2 separate regions of the Homo sapiens genome follow, and region 2 is linked to region 1. The links are contacts of gene promoters, found by promoter capture Hi-C in human tissues and cell types (Jung and others, 2019). All regions are on one chromosome and are shown on one strand. Each heading gives the region's core, a stretch centred on a gene start or on the middle of the fragment in contact. The rest is flanking DNA. Distances are from core to core; before and after follow the strand shown. Region 1 holds the start of JAKMIP2 (janus kinase and microtubule interacting protein 2). Region 2 overlaps JAKMIP2 (janus kinase and microtubule interacting protein 2).

Evidence for each region. The method cuts DNA at HindIII sites, captures the fragments that hold promoters and counts their contacts. A contact is called where the count stands out against the background at its distance.
Region 2: a fragment that was not itself captured here is called in contact with the fragment with the promoter of JAKMIP2 in region 1 in 1 of the 25 tissues and cell types used here (hippocampus).

What each region holds. Positions count from the first base shown.
Region 1 is chr5:147,779,580-147,785,437 of GRCh38, forward strand. JAKMIP2 (janus kinase and microtubule interacting protein 2) reads right to left here and starts at 3,149. Exons shown (of 22, transcript NM_001270941.2): 1 at 2,877-3,149. The HindIII fragment of the contact is 11,129 bases long and covers 1-5,858 here.
Region 2 is chr5:147,610,975-147,616,832 of GRCh38, forward strand. It overlaps JAKMIP2 (janus kinase and microtubule interacting protein 2), which reads right to left. Exons shown (of 22, transcript NM_001270941.2): 20 at 1,332-1,397. All of the region lies in intron 3 of JAKMIP2-AS1 (JAKMIP2 antisense RNA 1), which reads left to right. Among named protein-coding and RNA genes, the nearest start is that of JAKMIP2-AS1, 54 kb to the left of the region's middle. The HindIII fragment of the contact is 7,560 bases long and covers 1-5,858 here.

The DNA of each region.
Region 1 (5,858 bases), core at 1,899-4,398:
TGAACAGGTAAATGTTCAGTTTCCTGAATTCTGGCAGGATTACATGTAAATTTCTCTAAGAAGATGATCAGCTGATTTCTTTACAAATACCTAGAACCTGTAATTTAGAAGTCAACTACAAAATGGAGTCTTACTGTTATAACCTAGAAGTGTCTTATCTTAAACAACTAATGTACTCTCTCAAATAAATGACTCACTCTAGAAAAAGCAAGAGAAGTTCTTGAGAAGGAAATCTAGTACATCCTAGACAAATGCATATCTAGGTCATACTTTTGGAGGTTTTGATGAGAGAAGAATTCATTGCTTTATCTGATTAGCCAGTTGACTACTCACACTTACTATGAGGAACTTCTACATTTGCATATTTCTCATCTTCATAATTCCTCATAAAGTTGAAGCCCATTGACTACATTTGAGGTTCCAAAAAATAGCAATAAGCAATGTCCTGTGCTTATGCCCCATGCTTAGCTTATCTGAAACAAACGATTGCCATATTTCATTTTTCTCTTCTCTAAATGAAATGATCCTAGCTTTTAAAAATCTTTCCTCAGAGAGTTCAACTTCTAGTGCTTGAAACACACTTCACTTTTCTATGGCCCCTTAGCAAAGGCCATATAATTGTCTTAAATAGTGGGGTCAAAAGCTAGACCTGTATTTCTATCAGGGTAATAGCTGACACATAGCTGAAACAGGCTATCTACAAGGAGTTTTAAGCACATGGCCTAAGGGATTTGCCTCTGTTCAAACTGTACCAACTTTGCCTATAAAACCACCTCCAAATGAAAACTCAAAAAAAAGAAACAAAAACAAAGCCCCAGGATATCTGCTTTCATTGCATGAAATGGGGTCAACTAGTACAAATCTTAATTTTTTAAGTGTGCTATAGGCATATCTAACATTTTAATTTTTGGAAGTCAAGTGTTATCACTAAAAGATTCAGGATGCAATGTGTTATACAATTTGTTATAACATACAAGCCCAGTACCTCTTTCCTTGCCCTACTTCATATAGTTGTTAAAATTAGGCACAAAGTAGCATGAGTTTACAAAGCTATGGATCTATAATATATAACATGCTATGAGCACATGCACAATTGAGTCACCAAGGGCCCTTCTCATGTATAAACCAAATAGAACAATTATTCTCAGCAAAATTAAACTATAAACCTGGTTCAAATACATGTGAAAATTATAAATGTGGGGGGTGTATGTAGAATCAGATGCAAGACTAAAGACCCAAACAATTGTTATTTTACATTGTAAAAAATGTCTGTACTGACAATGATATTGTTAGAGAAGAGAATAATGGATAAAACTATAATAGCCCATGTGGTAAATGTAATATTACTAATACACTTTACCTACATAATTTTTTCTGGCTTTAATTCAATGAAATCCATTATCCTGGGCGGGAATGGAACCTCCTCATCTCACGCATCTTTAGTCTCCTGAACTGCCTTAAAGCCTTGACATAATAAAAGGTCAAGCAGATCCCAGTAAGCATTTGTAAATTACAATAGACCCCCATTTCAGCTACAAGCCACACATTCTCCTGCTCGCTTTGCTCACTCTCTGGTTTCATTTCATTGTATAAGCAGACTAATTTGGAAACGGCTGGGCTAGGGTGCTTGGGAATACCTAGATTTTCAAAACAATCCTACTTTCCTACTTAATTATTTACAGAAGGAGACCCTTAATACAACATCTGAGAGAACTGTGAAATGGTTCCTGGATACTGAAGGAATGAACATCAGATAGCAGCACTATTAAATAAAATGAATACATTTCACCTTCCAGCTTAGCTGTGCTTCCTGGGACACAAGGCACAAACATGAAAAGGTTGGGGTGGCATTTCAAGAAAACTGATTTGCTTCAACATTGATTTGGTAAGATGCTAGACACAAAATAATACCACAAACCGCCTCCCATTCCCATCATTGTAAATTCAGAGTCCTCAATATCATCCCCCACAAACCCAATTAAAAATAAAGAGGCAGGCTACAAATTTGCATCTAGTTCTATGACACAGATCAAACGATAGGCATCTGTTCCAATCGGTCACAATGAAACTAAGGGACAATAACCAGAGTAAATTTCACATTAATCCAAATAAAGCCAATGAATAATAATATAAACCAGAAGCATAGTTTCAAAAACATGCAATTACTTCCAGGCATGCAAGGACATATGTAACCCATAAAAATGGTTGCAAAGCACACCCTACATATAAATATGCTTCATAAATGCAATATAAATGCTAAGTGACATGTGTATATATGATCTGTATATCCATAAGATATACATGTGTAAGTTCACAGTCAAATCTACGTATAAAATAAAACTGGGTCTTGCAAATGATTTCTCAACAAGAGTATATTAGAATATAAAATAAAATGTCAAATTCTGGGGCCACTTTTTCTAAGCAATCAATAAAATAAGCAAAACCACCTTATAATGAGTCTGGTAAGCTTATGAGACACCAAATGTATTTCTGAAGAAGGCCCAACCCTGTATGTGAGAGCTGCAAATGAAATGATTCCTTTCAATAACACCCTCTTCTTGTTGTTAGCTCTTTTTCCAACCCCTGATGCTGTTGCTAAGCTTAGGAAAAAAGGCACCAAGTGGCTCAGTCTGCATTCTGAGCCAGTTAGAGATAAAATCAGAACACCATTTTTTTTTTTTAAACACAAGAGGTTGTCTTCTCACTTCTCTCTTCCTGGCAAGCTTCCTCTCCCTCCATCCTCATCTCTGTCTCCACATCTCCCCCTTCTAGTCTGAGGCACGGGAGTCATTGTTCAAGTTCAGGCCAGAAATGTATACACAGGTCAAATAAGAACACTCTAAACCAAGAAGGGAGCCCTACTGTTTCCTACTCACCATGCTGAGACCCGGAGAAGCTGTTTAAAGGAGGGAGAGATGCAAACTGAATCCATTTTCCTTGTGACCGAGTCGGATGCAGCCTCCGAACCCAACATCAGCAGTGGCTGCCGGTTTTTTTTTTCCCTCTGTCTCTGGTTGGCGATGGTGCGAATAGGAACCACCCTTCCAGCCCCACTAGAGTATCAGCAATAGAGGCGGCGGCGGCGGCAGCAGCAGCAGCAGCAGCATCACCAGTTGGGCCTCCTCCCTCTCGGAGGATGGGGTGAGCTCGGAAGCAGCCAGGAACTTGCAGCAGACACCTCCTCTGGCTCCTCCTCTCTCTCTCCCCCTCCCCCAGTGCCCCACCCCTGCTGCGGTAGAGGCTGCTGGCCCGGCAGCTGCTGGTTGCCATGGCAATGACCAATGATAAGCGACCAAGCTCAGGGGGAGGGGAGATGGGCGAAGCAAGCTGCAGGGTCTGGAGGGGAGTGAATTTGTGCTGCTGCCCTCTAGGATGCTCTTGATGTCTCCTACCCTGAACTCCAGGTCTTTTTAAAAATGGGGCAAGGGGGGCTAGGCACGGGGAGAGAATAATTAAAATTTAATTGAAATCTAGATAGAAACATACCAACGGCTTAGCTATTTTTTGCATTTTCTGTGGTTTTCCAATAAAAAGTATGAAATTTATTATCAGAAAAATAACAACAAATGTGGAGAAAATTATGTCGCATAATAGCAGATTATTATTACTTCCAAACGTGTTCGTCCTTTATAGCATCTTTTACTCAATACCAGGCAACAAGGTTTTTAGAAAGCAAACGGAGTGGCTGGACTTTGTAATAAATTAAGAGTCTGGTTGATTCCTTTGCACTACTCCCGGCTTGTTCTCAGGTGAGTTACTTGGTTTCACTGTTTTTCCAGCTACCCTTCTGAACAGGACTTGGAGGTAATTGACACATCCCTGAGGAAAAGTAAGTTTGGATAGAGACCGAAATTCCTTTCAACAACCACTATTCTCGGTAGCACAAGTTGGTGGACAGTTCCCAATCTTTTTAGTGTCAAACTCCTGGAGCATTCAATTTCCTGCAGGCAATTCCTGTCGTTTTCATGGATGCCTTTTTGGAGTTCCGAAGTCAGTTGGCAGTCAGGGTGGTGGGCAGGAAAAGGGGGAAGTGAAATCAGCAATGTCCAGTTCTAGGCGAGTTCTGTTTCTAACTATAAATTATAGATGACACCAGTATTTATCTCGTGGAGGGGTTGTAAAGATTGAATGAGATAATGCACTAAAAGCACTTGGCATATAGTAAGTGTACAATAAATATTTACTATTAGCAGCATAGTAGTACATTGCAGCCATCTCTTAATCTAAGGGTTTAAGGGGAATAACATGGCAATTTCAGGTAGGAGAAAAAATTAAGATGAGAAAATCCAAAGTACGTAATAACCATGATGATGATGGCAAAGACAGAGAGGCCCTAAGAGATTAAGTGTTCTCTACATCTTGATATTTGAGGACATTGTAAATCTCAGAGGAGTTAGATACATTTCCCAAATTCACAACTGATAAACGACAGAACCGGAATCAAAATGGACTCTTCTAACACTTACATTTGCTCTCCTAACCACCACACTTTTCTGCCACTCCTCCATAAAATGGAAATAATCTTTGTTCTTAATCCACAGAGTTATTTACAGGTTCAAATGGGTTTAACACAAGTTCCAGAGTCAGACGATCTAGGCTCCATTCCTAGCGCCAGTATTTACTATAGGTATAATCTGGAACATATTTATTAACTTCCTCAAATCTATGTTTCTTCATCTGTAAAAAGAAATAATCACAGAACCTCATGAGTCATTACAAAAATTAAACTAGATGACGTGTGTAAAATGTACGGTCTTTAGCAGATAGGAAATGTTCAATAAATGTAGCTACAGTTACTTGTTACTCATTTGTAAGTAACTAATATTAAAACATGAGAAGACTTTTTCCTGCATGGTGTCACTCTTAATGTCAGGGGCTTCTTCTAATAAAACTGGCTTGAAGATAACTAGGTGATGAGGAAAGAGTTGCAGCAGTTCCCCAGCACGTGACACTGGCTTTCCATCCACTTGGTGGGAAAGCCTGCAACCTCCTTTGTGCAGCTAGTGTCCCCTGCCTTCTGTCAAAGTCTCAGCAGCCACACAACCTGCACACACTTCCAAGTCAGCATCACCTATGTGTAATGTGTAACATAAAGGAATGGGATGTGATCATCTCGCTTCTTTTTGTATTCCTGTATTTTATCTTCTGCTTTCTCTGCAGAGATGTTCTTGTAAGTAAGCAGACCAGGAAGCTGCAGGCTGTAGAAGTTATGACACACTAGATGACAGAACCCTCCACACTGTCCTCGGGACAGCATTTCATCCTTAGCGCTAGGAGCCAAATGTCTAGGGGTGGGTGATTCTAGTTTTTCCTCTCCTCCCATCAACATAAAACAGCTGGTCAAGAGTCAATTGGTAAGAGAAAAGTTTGGTGTTTCCTATCTGAAGAAGTATCCAGTTTAACCATTCAAATACAACTTACTCATTTGTTTTTGGTCACGTCCAGGCAGCACTGTTATCATTATTTAATAATAGTTTTCCCTTATTTGCTTTAATTATTTATGATTTACTTGATTTGCTATTTATTCATTTTTTAATGAAATGTTTCTCTGACTTCAGCAAAACATAAATGAAAATTGACATGGTAAAGATAATGGACCCATATGAAGGAAACGAAAACAAATTCTTAATTTTTTTAGTAAAACAAAGACTTCAACTTTATTTATAATAATTTTTAATTTAAAAAGAAACATTAAAACTCTCACCTCTCTATTACCATCCCCTCTCATACCATGTTCTATTTTTCTATATACTATATATAAAATTAATATGAATAATATACTATGGGATAATATAACATTGCTTAATGTGGCATGCTATACTATAATGTGTACTGTATTGTATATTAGTAATATACTG
Region 2 (5,858 bases), core at 1,209-3,708, 170 kb before region 1:
TTACACTGTGAGGGGAAAGCAGCCTACTCAAGCTTCAGTAATAGAGAATGCCCCTCCCCCCACCAAGATCGGGCACCCCAGGTTGACTTCAGACTGCTGTGCTGGCAGGTAGAATTTCAACCCAGTGGGTCTTAGCTTGCTGGGATCCATGGGGGTGGGATCCGCTGAGCAAGACCACTTGGCTCCCTGGCTTCAGGCCCCTTTCCAGGGGAGTGAACGGTTGTGTCTTGATGGCATTCCAGGTGCCACTGGGGTATGAAATAAAAACTCATGCAGCTAGCTCAGTGTCTGCCCAAACAGCCTCCTAGTTTTGTGCTTGAAACCCAGGGCCCTTGTGGTGTAGGCACCTGAGGGAATCTTCTGGTCTGTGGGTTGTGAAGACCATGAGAAAAGTGTAGTATCTGGGCCGGAGTGCACCATCCCTCATGGTGCAGTCCCTCATGGCTTCCCTTGGCTAGGGGAGGGATTTCCCCGACCCCTTGCGCTTCTTGGGTGAGGCAACACCCCACCCTGCTTTGGCTTGCCCTCCGTGGGCTGCACCCATTGTCTAACCAGTCCCAATGAGATGAACCAGGTACCTCAGTTAGAAATGCAGAAATCACCTGCCTTCTGTGTTGGTCTGGCTGGGAGCTGCAGATGGGAGCTGTTCCTATTCAGCCATCTTGCTCGGGAATTCCAGGCTTTGGCTTTTTTTGTTGTGCAAGCCTGTGTAGCTCGCTGCTGCTTGTTCAGCATCCCAGCCTGAGCTCTGTCTGTTCTCCCACCCCACACGCATTTCCAAGTGCCCTCTGTAAGAGCCATGTTGTTATATCCCTCAAAAACACTGGCTGACTTGGAAGAAGCAGCCACTCTTTGAGATCACTGGGGAAGTGACAGGACAACATGATTATCATATATCAACCCAAGTTTCTGAATTTACTGTTAAGGTGAAACTGCAGCACAAGGATGAAAGGTCTTTTTATGAATGATAATGGGAAAGGTAAAACAAAGGTGCTAAAAGATTTTTTTAAAAAAAGAGCAAAGTAGGGTAACAAAACTTGAAGAAACTTTTGGAAAGGAAATGAAGATAAGGAAGGGGAAACTAAGGAAAGAAAACACAGAAAAAATAGGAAAGCAACACAAAAGACAAATATGTGAAGGCTGGGTTACTGATGGCAGACGCTTTGCTGGCATTCTGTTTGACTGAAGGTGAAAGCTAGGTTTACTGTAACTATACCTGCCTCTGCAAGACACACAATAACTGAGAAGCCAGGAAGAAAATACAGTGAGCAAAATCAATATTGCTTTCTGATTAAACAAATAATAAGATAGTTATTGAATTTGACACCTACCTTTTCTTCTAAGTCTTTTATTTGTCTTTTCTGGATGTCTGTTTTATCTTCTAAGTCACGAATTCTCTGAAGAAAGAAAAGAAAAGAAAGAAAGCATCAGTAGGTGGTAAGTTGTGCGGAAAAATAATTTACCAAATGAAAACACGAAACTTCCTATACAAACCTGAATATTTGTACAAGCAGCTGGAAACATCGCATGTATGTTTTCCCCACCCAAAAACATGTTGCATGTTTCAGAAATTATCTATGTTTGTGGTAGAAAATCATTGCTACTGATTAACTTTTCAAAAAATATTTGCCACCTTTTCTACTGAGCCTATCCCTGTAGACCCCTTCCTAGTGAGGTGTAGATTCCACACCACTGACATTGAGTTTGGCAAAGAGACTTGTTTTGGCCTGTGGAATGCAAGTTGGAATAAGATTTGGGAATATCAAATCCTTGTAGAGGGTGTAGTATATCTCAGAAGTAGACAGCAAGAAACAAGCTTTGTTATGAACCATTTGGATTGAGATTTTGATTGTTTGTTACCACATTAAAGATGGTTGAGGCTGACTCATATAGATGTAAACAATCCAATTGTTCTTTCTTAACCTTTTTATCTTAACCCCATTTCAACCCTGTTTCAGGATAGAATTTTCTCACAAAATAGAATTGGTAAATTCACAAAACAAAGTAGAGATTACACATCAACAAACATTCCCAGGAGGGAACTGGTAAATTAGGAAAACACCAGAATATAACAAACATAACACAAGTAATCCTAAAGATGAAAAGTTCCAAGACTGTCTTTGAACTTACCTCTCAATTATGTAACAAAATTCCACTAATTTAAACACCGAATATTTGAAATCAACATTACATAACAACTATTTACAAGTAAAATAAAGTCTTCACATTTATATCTGGCAATCTGAAGGTTTTTTTGTGTTCATGTACATGGTTATATAATGCAGGCTTCTTATTTAATACCTCTGTAGGGAATAATTAGAAAATAGAGAAATGGAGTCTATGGAGAAAACACTAGAAGCCAAATGGGATGATAATATAGAAAGAGAGGTTTTTATAATGCAATGGTAGGAGAAAAAAAGGGAAGCTAGAACAAGGGGTACTTGAACTTGGAAAGCATATCTCCTTCTCTTTAAAAGAGTAGATCTCAACTGTTTGTCTCTCCCTGCCCCAGCCAGGGACATTTGGCAGTTCTGCACATTTTTTTAAAGTTAGTTAATATGTTTATTTATTTTAAGTTGTGTAATTCAGTGGTTTTAGTATATTCATAAAATTGTGCAACCATCACCACTATCTAAATGTCTTGACATTTTTGTACTGTCACAACTGGGAGTATGTGCATCTAGCATCTACTGAGTAGAAGCCAGGAATGCTACTAAACATTCGATAAGGCACAGAACAGCCACCCCTCCCCCTAAAAAAGAATAAAGAATTATCTGCTTCAAAATTTCAGTAGTGCTGAAATTGAGAAACTCTTCTTTAAAGTAAGGGGGCTAAGGTTTGTGCAACAAGAGATGGTGTGTTTTGGTCAGAGTGAGACCATAAAGGTTAACCTTGAAATTATACCATAATGAATGCCGGAGAAAGGGATGGAACTGGAATGTTGATGGTGTGTTTATACGTGTATGATTTGTGTGCTGGTGTATATTTCCATAGTGCTGTCAGTGCTCCATAGCTACACAGTAAAAGAATAAATTTGCTAGATATTTCCACCTTGAGTGTTCACGTAATTCCTTGGCATGTCTGCTGGATATGGAGGCAAGTACTATATGGACAAAATCATGAATATGTAAAATTACTGCAGTATCCATTCAGCCATCACATCTATGCTTGTTGGGCACCTCCTTACATGCTCATGACTCTGCTGAATGTAATGGACAATACAGATAAGGCACCAGTTAGTTCCCAGTTTCAAAGAACTATCAGATCCAGATGGAATAGCAAAACTAAATAGAAAAGGTAAACAATGGAAAAAAACTGAATAACTTTGTCACCCATCTCCAATTCCTAGTGCAGTGTTAAGCATGGAGAAGGTGTCCACACATATTTTTTTGTCAAATAAATGTGTTATGCTACATCATATGACGTATACTTGATTTCTTTTTGCTTCCCATCCCTTTGCCATCCACCCAACAGAAAACCTTGCTGGATCTAAAACATTCCTTTTCTACCTACTTCTTTTTATCTCTACTGATACCAAGTTCACCAAGTCATTGTCTTCCCTTGTCAGGGCTGGTGTGGCAGCTTCTACCTGCTCTTCCTGCCTTTTATTTTGACCATCTTACTCCATCAATAGCAGCCATTGTGAACTCTCAGAATGTAAAAATGATCTCCATGGTCCCCTGAGTTTAAGCGGGTGGGGAAGAAAAGAAGGAAGAGTTAGTTGAGTTGTACTCAGAATAAAACTCAAACTCCTGCAAAGCCCTGTGTGATGTGGCCCTTTCTTAGCTCTGCAACGTCTCCTCCTATCAACCTCACTCTGGCTCTGCGTGCTCCTGACATTCTAGCCTTTGCTCTGTTCCTTGACTATTCCAAACTTATTCCCATGATAGGGACTTAGCCCTTGCTGTCCCTGTCTTCTGGGACACTTGGCCAAGATCTTTGTGTGGCTCATTTCTTGGATCGTAGGTATCTTCAGAGAGGCCTCCTCTGACCAGCCAACCTAAAGTGGCCAATCCTACTCCCAAACTCACATACACATTGTATACGTTTCTGCATAGCACTTATTGCCACTCTCAGAAATTGCCTCAGTCATTGTTCATTTGTTCTGTGGCTCTGCCCCTGTCCCTCTGTGAGATAGATGAGAGTAGTGATCTGTATGTCTTTGCTTACCATTATACTCCCAGCACCTGGTACACAGCAGGCCCTCAATAAATGGTTGTGAATGAGTGCATAACAGAATATAGAATGTAGATATCTTGAGCAGTATGTGGTTCATTTTTAAAATTTTCATCAGGGAGAGGATCCTGAATGGGTTGGATCTTAAACTGGGACTGGAAAAATGAGAACACTTGGATCAATGCAATGGAAACTAATGGACACTTTAGGATGAGCAATTATGCAACAAGGGCTTAGAGGTGGAAAATCACAGCACAAGTGGGACCAGGATGTTTTGCATGAGTGGAGAGGGAAGTATGCTCTGGGGTTGGGTCAAATCTGGTTTTGGAGGGCGGGGTAGTCAGCTACTGAAGGACCTGAAGAGACCTGCGTAAGACTCTACTCAACTGGAAATTGGATCATGGAGGCTTTGAGGCAAGAATGTACCATGAGGAAAAATGAGAAGAATCTGTGATGAGATGTGTGTTGGATTGAAAAGGGGAGAGCTAGAACTAGGTCCTCATGGCACCTGCATGTACTTTTAAAAATGCTATTTATTATGATATATCATAATTATTTTTCTTTGTGTTGATCATTTTATAACCATCTATGGGTCCTTCGTTTTGTGAAGGCAGGGTCCACGGTGAATTCTCTGTCTAGCACAGTACTTAGCACCTAGGAAAAACATTTAAAAGTTTGACTGAATAAATGCATAGATGATGGAGTCAGATTCACACAGAGAACATTTGGCAGTACCTGGAAGCTGGTGGAATAATGAAAGGTCCTGCACGTGCCTGGGGTGACAAAAATGAACAAAATGGACCAGTATCAAAAACATTTCAGGGGAAATGCCAGTTGGATGTGGTGCTGTATTAATGCTTACAGGGAAAGAACAGAGAAGACTCCAGTGTTTCTAGCCGGAGTGATTTGAGATATGGTAATTCTACTGACTAAGACAGGCAGATGGGGAGAGAGAAGAGAAGTAAGGATAAGAACGCATCAGTTCACTCTTAAACATTCAAGCAGAACGGTGTAATACATGGTTAGTGATATACTTTAGAAGTTAGAGTGTATTACATAGTTATATATAAAAAATCCTGGCCAATATCTTCTGGAATAATTCTATGAAACTCAGCTATTAATTAAAAGGGAAGAAGAAGAGTAAGAAATAACTGGGAAAGGCATATTCTAATGAACATTTGTTTAGAAGATGGATGGAAAATGTCAATGAAACTCCCTGAGGTTCAGAAATGTACTATCAGCACTACTGGATAACTTAAACAAAACCAACTCTTTCAGAGGTGAAGTATCTTAGCTAAATGGTTAAAGAAATACTCAAATGGAATACAGTTTTTATCATAAATAAATTTAGATAACTATGAGTCCATCTTAAAAGTAAACACTTCAGTGTTTCCATGACATAACTCCCAATTTGTTGAAAGTAATTACATGCTATTGCAGCACAAGAAATTTGTGCAGAGTACATTTTTATCCCCTGCTAGAAGAAAAGAATGCATGAAGCAATGCAATGATGGCATAGAGTCTATTATTAAAGACTTTAAGAAGTCTTTCCATGGGTCAAAACTCAAACTTTTGTGATGGAATCTGAAGGGGCATTAATAGGAACATGTAGGTATTTATCATTTCTGGGACACGTGGCTTCAGAATTCTCCACCTACTTGGGTAATCTATTAGCCTATAAA